2 separate regions of the Homo sapiens genome follow, and region 2 is linked to region 1. The links are contacts of gene promoters, found by promoter capture Hi-C in blood cells and fetal thymus (Javierre and others, 2016). All regions are on one chromosome and are shown on one strand. Each heading gives the region's core, a stretch centred on a gene start or on the middle of the fragment in contact. The rest is flanking DNA. Distances are from core to core; before and after follow the strand shown. Region 1 holds the start of BPGM (bisphosphoglycerate mutase). Region 2 overlaps TPK1 (thiamin pyrophosphokinase 1).

Region 1 (3,584 bases), core at 596-3,095:
AGAGACAGCTCATCGAATAGACCAGGACACAGGGTTCAGGATATGATACTGTAACATAATTAAGTATGGAGAACAATCTTGCCATAGGGCAAAAGTAACTCCTGAAATTCTGTTAGCCTCTGTGCACATTTGTCTTACAAACATGCTTGCTCCTGATGAAAATCTGCTTTTTAATTCCTTCTAGACAGAATCACTGATATAAGCTTCCATCTTATATCAAAATGACTCATTCATAAGCCACATACTCTTGCGAATGATTCTAAAAGGCAAGTGATGTTTGATATTAAGGTTTTATGTGACAAGCTAGCATTCCATGGGTGTCCATAACAACAGTAAACTTAAATCCAATGAGTAGGCGCCCTTAAGTCCAGACTAAGTAGCCCTAAATGCCAAATGCCACAAGACTGTCACTTGGTAATGACTGTCATTAGCCTCCGGAGTATGGATGGTGGGCACTCTGAATAGGAGCTTTATTACACTGTAGAAGAAAAGCTTTCTCCTTACTTTGTCCTCAACTGATATTGAGAAAAAAGCAAGAGGGCAAATGTATAAGATTTGGAAGCTGCCCCTTCCAGCTGTTCTGGCCTGAACTCTAGTTAATCTTGTGCAAGTTAAATTCTAACTATCACTAGGTGAGACCTATCACCTGCTGGGACCTGTCAAGCCTCGGATTAGTGCCGTCCCGGAAGTAAAGTTCTGTTGATATCCCAGGAGGAACTGTCATGCTCTAACATGGATAAATGAGATACAGAACTGGCTACGATTAGGTCTTAATGAGTTCAATAAAGAGTGTGTCACAGAATTTCAAATGTGGAAAGATTATCTTTTCAACTGTATGTATAATTTATTCTGAGGACTTGCTTGCGTGTCACAAACCTAATGCATTTGTTAGGAGGATGAAACAGGAAAAACTCACAGGAGGACACGAAACACTACTTAGGATAGCTTCTAAGAAGGGAATCTCCCATAACATTCCTTATCTTTCCCGCCCACCCAAGAGTTCTGACACATATGCTTCAAAACCTCGTGTGGTAGTTCAAGCCTGCTTAGAAGCTTTTAAGGCCTCGTGCCAGGTTTCCGGTGTTTTCATAGATTTCTCTTGTTCAGTTATTGTCGCCTCCAAATTTGTCATTCTCTCATTCCACTCTAGCCTCCCTTCCTCTGTGCAATAAGCTTTTAGGGCATTCCATTAATCACTTTTCTTCCCCACCTAAAATACTGTCAGCAAACTGCCTAGGGGAATCCCTATAAAAGCGGTAAGAGAAAGTAAGGTTGCGTTACTGCCTATAAATTGGGCACTTTAAAGGCATTTGTTTTAATCACGACTTAAGACTTTCAACCACGAGTAATTTGTGCGAAAGGAGCTTCTTCTGGGAGGATACCTCGGCTTCGTCTTCAGGTTTCAATCCCTAAATTTCCCATAAGTAAAAGAAACATCACCTCCTCTCTTCCAAGAGTCCGCTGACACCTGTCTTCACCCGCAGGTGTTTCTTTTAAGACGTTAAACGCTTTCTAGAACCTCAAACAGCTAAGATGCTCCCCGCACCCGAGGTTTTGCACCAGCGACGCTCTAGGGTGTGTTTTTCTACTTCCCTAGGCCCAAGCCTGCCCGCTGGCGTCGAAGCCAACTCCTTACTGGTTCAGGTATGTGCTCGTCTCTAGAGTAAACCAATCAGAGCCCCACTTCTTACTCCTGGGATTTGGTAAACGGAAGAGACCTCTCCTGTTCCGGGAGTAGGCCGGGACCGTGGATGAGTGACAGTTCGACTTTCCAATAGGCAGAGCCCTAGGACCTGCCCACGTCTGGTTCAGGGGCTAGAAAAGAGCGTCGATGCCGGCGGCAGTGATGAGTCCTAGGAGGCGCTGGCTCTTTGGCGGCTCGGAGGAGCGGCTGCTGCTGCTGCTGCTGCTGCTGGTGGCCCCTTTGCAGGTGAGTGGCTTTGTTTTAGAAAATGTTGCGAACGTTTACATTTTTTAGTGATGTGATGTTTTATTTTTGGGTGCGGGGAAGGCCAGTTTCTTTACTTCCCCCGGTTTAGTCGTTGGTGGGAGTCTGGTGCCCACTCCAGCCCTCAAGCTGGGACCCTCACTTATCGCCCCGGTCCCTTTCCCTTGTCCCTATCTCAGAATGAGCCTCGCAGGCAGTCACCGTTCTGTCAACTGAGAGGAGGAGCCCGCTTTGGTAGTGCTGTCCTTATGGCAAGAATATATAGAAGTTGGAGGGAAGATAAACTCTCTTCTGGATGTCTGAGGTACTGTGTAGCAGAGCCCTTCCAATAGTAAGATCCCCTGGAAGGAAGCAGGGCGATGCCGCTGTATTTAGGGTTCTGGCAGACCTGGCCCTATCTATCATTTTGTGTAGTAGACAGAAAAACTCGAATGCGGTGAAAAGAGAAGGAGGTGAATATATGCAGTGTTTTCATGTAGGAATCTGGAGCCAAATCACAAGTTCTTAGAACCACTAGAAATAAAAACGTAAGTGTATTTTCCTCTTTTCTAAGGGACGAGCTGGTATTACACTAGAGAAGGTCAATGAAATGCATAATTGCAGTTAAGTTCACAGTTAAGCTTTAAAGAATAGTTGGTTGTTAGCTAACTTATAACTCTCATCCCCCTACTGCCTCCCTTGCAAATTACGGAAGATCTTTAGCTTGTGAGTGGTACTAGAATGTTAGCTGACTAAATGCAGACTCTTTCCAAGAAGGGGAAAAATCAAAAGCTAAGTTTCACCTGTAGGTACTAAAGGTTTTTTAATAGTGAAAGCAGAACTCATGTCAATTTGTCTTTTATTTTTTATTTTTTTTGAAACGGAGTCTCGCTCTGTCGCCCAGGCTGGAGCGACTGCAGTGGCTCGATCTCGGTTCACTGCAACCTCCGCCTACCGGGTTCAAGTGATTCTCCTGCCTCAGCCTCCCAAGTAGCTGGGATTACAAGCATAGGCCACCACGCCTGGCTGATTTTTGTATTTTTAGTAGAGACGGGGTTTCACCATGTTGGCCAGGGTGGTCTTGAACTCCTGACCTCAGGTGATCTGCCTGCCTCGGCCTCCCAAAGTGCTGGGATTACAGGCGTGAGCCACCGTGCCTGGCCTTGTCTTTTTTCTTTCTTTCTTTCTTTTGTTTTGGTTTTTTTTTTGTTTTGTTTTCAGACGGAGTTTCGCTTCTGTTGCCCAGGCTGGAGTGCAATGGCGCGATATTGGCTCACCGCAACCTCCGCCTCCTGGATTCAATCGATTCTCCTGCCTCAGCCTCCCGAGTAGCTGGGATTACAGGCATGCGCCCCCACGCCCAGCTAATTTTGTGTTTTTAGTAGAGACAGGATTTCACCATGTTGGCCAGGCTGGTCTCGAATTCCTGACCTCAGGTGATCTGCCTGCCTCGGCCTCCCAAAGTGCTGGGATTACAGGTGTGAGCTACCGCGCCCGGCCTTCTTTTTTTTTGAACTGCCTCCCGTGAGTCCAGGGAATAGCTCTTTCTTAGCCATCTTTGTATTCCAGTAGCACCTCATACACCGCAGATGCTCCCCAGTTGGTGGTGGACTTCAGAGAAGCATAATTCAAACAGTGTCATAGTGGAAGGAGCTCT
Region 2 (3,435 bases), core at 720-3,219, about 10 Mb after region 1:
ACAGATAAATCATACCAACAAATAAAATTCACAGAAGCTGGTATCAGAAAAAACTTCTCTGCCAGGTGAGTATTAAACACTGAACCTGTTTGATAAAGGGAATCTCTCCAATAAAAAAATTAACCTCAAAAATTTACTGAATTACTGTAAAAGATCCGGCATCACACTGGCCCTTATAGTAATAGTTCTGTTGTTAAACACCTTATACATATCCAGAGTAATCACAAACTTGCCCAAATCCTTGTTTCAAGGTCAAAACTAGAGATAAGACAAGAATCCTACACAGTTTTACCCATAGGAACAACAGGAGGTAACTGTGAGAACCACCCAAGAGGCCAGGCACTGGATTCTGTTCCCTGGATCTGTACTTCATATATCACCATTTCCCTACAGGCCTTGCTCCAATGTGGAACTTACAAATGTCCTGACTTAAGCAGTCAAGGCCTTCTCCACTAAGCCTCTATTAAAAACAAAGGGGCAGAGCTATCAGCTCCCTCCTTTTCCATCTCAGCATCCACCCTGAGATTCAACTGCCTTTTTGCTTTCCCCTCAAACTTACTGCTGAACAGCTTATAGCTACTGAAGCTAAGTGCTTGATTTGTACTAATTCATTTATACACATAATAACCCTATGATGTATTCCTATTTTACAGATGAAGAAATGGAAGTACAAGGTGAAATAACTATTAAGTGGCAAAGCTAGGATTTAAACCCAGATATTATAGTTCCTCAATACAATCTTTATTATGCAGCAGTCAGTATCCCTGATATATGTCTTTTAACCTAGAAACCATTAGAAATCTTCAGACAGTAATGCTCTTAGGTTTCAGTAACAAATCTGAAAGTCAACATTTCACCCAAATCAAATGTTTACTCTAGAAAATGCTGTTTGTCCTGGTAATACTGGATAAACGAGAACTAGGAAATTTGCAAAATGTGCTTCCCAGTGCCTTTTGGGGTTTTTTTTCTTTGGATTGTTTTTGTTTTTGTTTTTGTTTTTGTTTTGAGATGGAGGATGGAGTCTCTCTCTGTCTCCCAGGCTGGAGTGCAATGGTGCAATCTCAGCTCACTACAACCTCCACCTCCCAGGTTCAAGCAATTCTCCTACAATTCTCCTACCTCAGCCTCCCAAGTAGCTGGGATTACAGGCGTGTGCCGCCACAACCAACTAATTTTAGCAGAGACTATTTTTAGTACAGACAGGGTTTCACCATGTTGGCCAGGCTGGTCTCAGAATTCCTGACCTCAGGTGATCCTCCTGCCTCAGCCTCCCAAAGTGCTGGGATTACAGGCCTGAGCCACCGCGCCTGGCCTTTTTTTTTTTTTTTTTTAACTTTGAAAAGCTGTTTAAAGTAATAAACACTCAACCTTTTAATCTACTAAAATAATAAAGGGATTAAGACTCTAGTTATGTAACTGTTTTCCTTCACCTGTAGAATAAGACATAAACATGTATATGTATATAAAGCTTTTAGCATAACTAGGCGTGGTAGTTCATACCCACAATCCCAGCACTTTGGGAGACTGAGGCAGGAGAATGGGATCACTTGAGCCCAGGAGTTTAAGACCAGCCTGGGCAACACAGGGAGACCCCTTCTCCACAAAAAATTTAAAAATTAGCCAGGTGGGGTAGTGCACACCTGTAGTCCTAGCTACTCCAGAAGTTAAGGTGGGAGGATCGCTTGAGCATGGGAGGTCGAGGCTGCAGTGAGCCATGATGGCACCACTGCACTCCAGCCAGGGCGACAAAGCAAGACCCTGTCACAAACAAAAACATGACTTGGGAGTAAGGAGTCAATGTCACCTACTATTCCCAGCATGTGGAAAAACGTACAAGTTAAATTCAATGCCCAAAACACGACCCATGAATTCATGTTGACAGAAAACAAATGTAAACGTTTAAACAATTATACTTTCTGTTTAAATTTACGAAAGTTATGAGAAAAAACTAATAGTTAATTGAAAATACTTTAACATTACCAAATTATCACACAGTAGTCAATTATTACACAAGAATGAATGCTAACAACCTGCCTCATAAACTCATTCATTCCATCTATTTCCATGTGAAGTACCTGAATGTCTTATTTTCAAAAGTTTTTCTCTTTCCTGTGCGATGCCTTGTCTTACCTTTAACAATGAGATAATAGTCTTTGCTCTCCTTTCCCCCACGAACACCCTTACACAACGTTTCCCTTATCTAATTATGTGTTCGTCTGAAGTTCCAGAGACTAATCTTGAAACAATTCAGGCGACTACTGAATTCTCCTCCACCTGGAGATTACTTCAAGGCTGCAGTTAATTTGCAACCCAGTTATACTCAGGCGCCAGCCCATTCACCAGATGAGGCAAAAACCCAAGATAAATATCTGAGCAAGTCACGTAGACTGGGGCCCCCGAGCCCCAATACCAAGCGCCCCTTTATAAGCTCTTACATTTTGTCCAAATTTGAAATGGTTTCGTTAAGGCAGAAGCTTGGACTACTTCCCCATTGCTAGCTTTGGAAAGTAGTCACTTTCCTTTCCGGGCCCTTCGTCCTTGTTGATTGGCTCTGCAAGCAGCGAGCAGCCCAGCCTGAACTCGGTTACACAGTAATTTCAAATCTTAGAAGAATAAAATATCCTGAGTGTTATATAGATTTAAAACACTTGATATAATCATTTGCCAATCTTTTATTAGATAAGCTCGGGGCACTTTCAATGGATTAAAAATGCATCACGGTCAGGCAACGATGACCGTCCTTAATGCCTGCAATGTCTAATGTTCCGCTATGTTCCAGATTTGTTCGCGCTGTTGGTGGAGGCGCAACAGCCGGGAAGCGCTTACTGGGCTCCACACGGACTACACACACTGTATCTTGTCATTTCGTCCTCACAGCAAGGACTGATACGTAAGCTCATTTTTCAGATGAGGAAAATGAGACCGGCGAGAGGCTGATATGCTTAGCGGTACAGAGCTAGGAAATCAGGGACAGAACCCAGGCTGGAAGTCACGCTGGCTCTAGAGCCCCGTCCTTTCGACCTGTTCCCGTCGCTGGGGAGGGGCACGTCAGTGACACTAAACCGTGGAAAGAAATACAGTACCAGTGGAAAGCAGGGGCTCCAACGGGGTAAAGGCATGCTCCATAACGGATTATTGGCCTCTGCATTAAAAAAAAAAAAGTGAAGTTAGACTCTCAGTTTTAATTAAACATCGCGCAGAACCAACAGCACGGGAGCCGCCTGAACCTGGCACTCGGCAGCGGCGCGCTCCGGGACCCAGGAGCCAGCTGAGCTGCGGCGCAGCACCCGGCGCTGGGGACCCGCCACGGCTCGCCTACAGCACCGCCGCGGGCGGGGGCCCCCGGAGACCGGCCGCGCGGGCCGCTATGAGGTCCGAGGGGTTGCCCCTGCCGCCTCTCTCCGCGAACCCATCACCATCCGGGAACCTGGGGAG

The links. Contacts are between HindIII fragments. The CHiCAGO score rates a contact against its expected background, and 5 or more counts as called.
Region 2: a contact is called between a fragment that was not itself captured here and the fragment with the promoter of BPGM in region 1, in 1 of 17 cell types (fetal thymus). The highest score is 8.2, in fetal thymus.

Annotation. Positions count from the first base shown.
Region 1 is chr7:134,645,008-134,648,591 of GRCh38, forward strand. BPGM (bisphosphoglycerate mutase) reads left to right here and starts at 1,846. Exons shown (of 3, transcript NM_001724.5): 1 at 1,846-1,930. All of the region lies in intron 1 of LOC124901750 (a long non-coding RNA gene), which reads right to left. RefSeq lists enhancers at 1,823-1,972, 2,073-2,182. The HindIII fragment of the contact is 1,395 bases long and covers 1,172-2,566 here.
Region 2 is chr7:144,832,477-144,835,911 of GRCh38, forward strand. It overlaps TPK1 (thiamin pyrophosphokinase 1), which reads right to left. Exons shown (of 9, transcript NM_022445.4): 2 at 3,084-3,142. The coding sequence starts at 3,126. Among named protein-coding and RNA genes, the nearest start is that of TPK1, 1.9 kb to the right of the region's middle. RefSeq lists a silencer at 3,318-3,417. The HindIII fragment of the contact is 1,006 bases long and covers 1,467-2,472 here.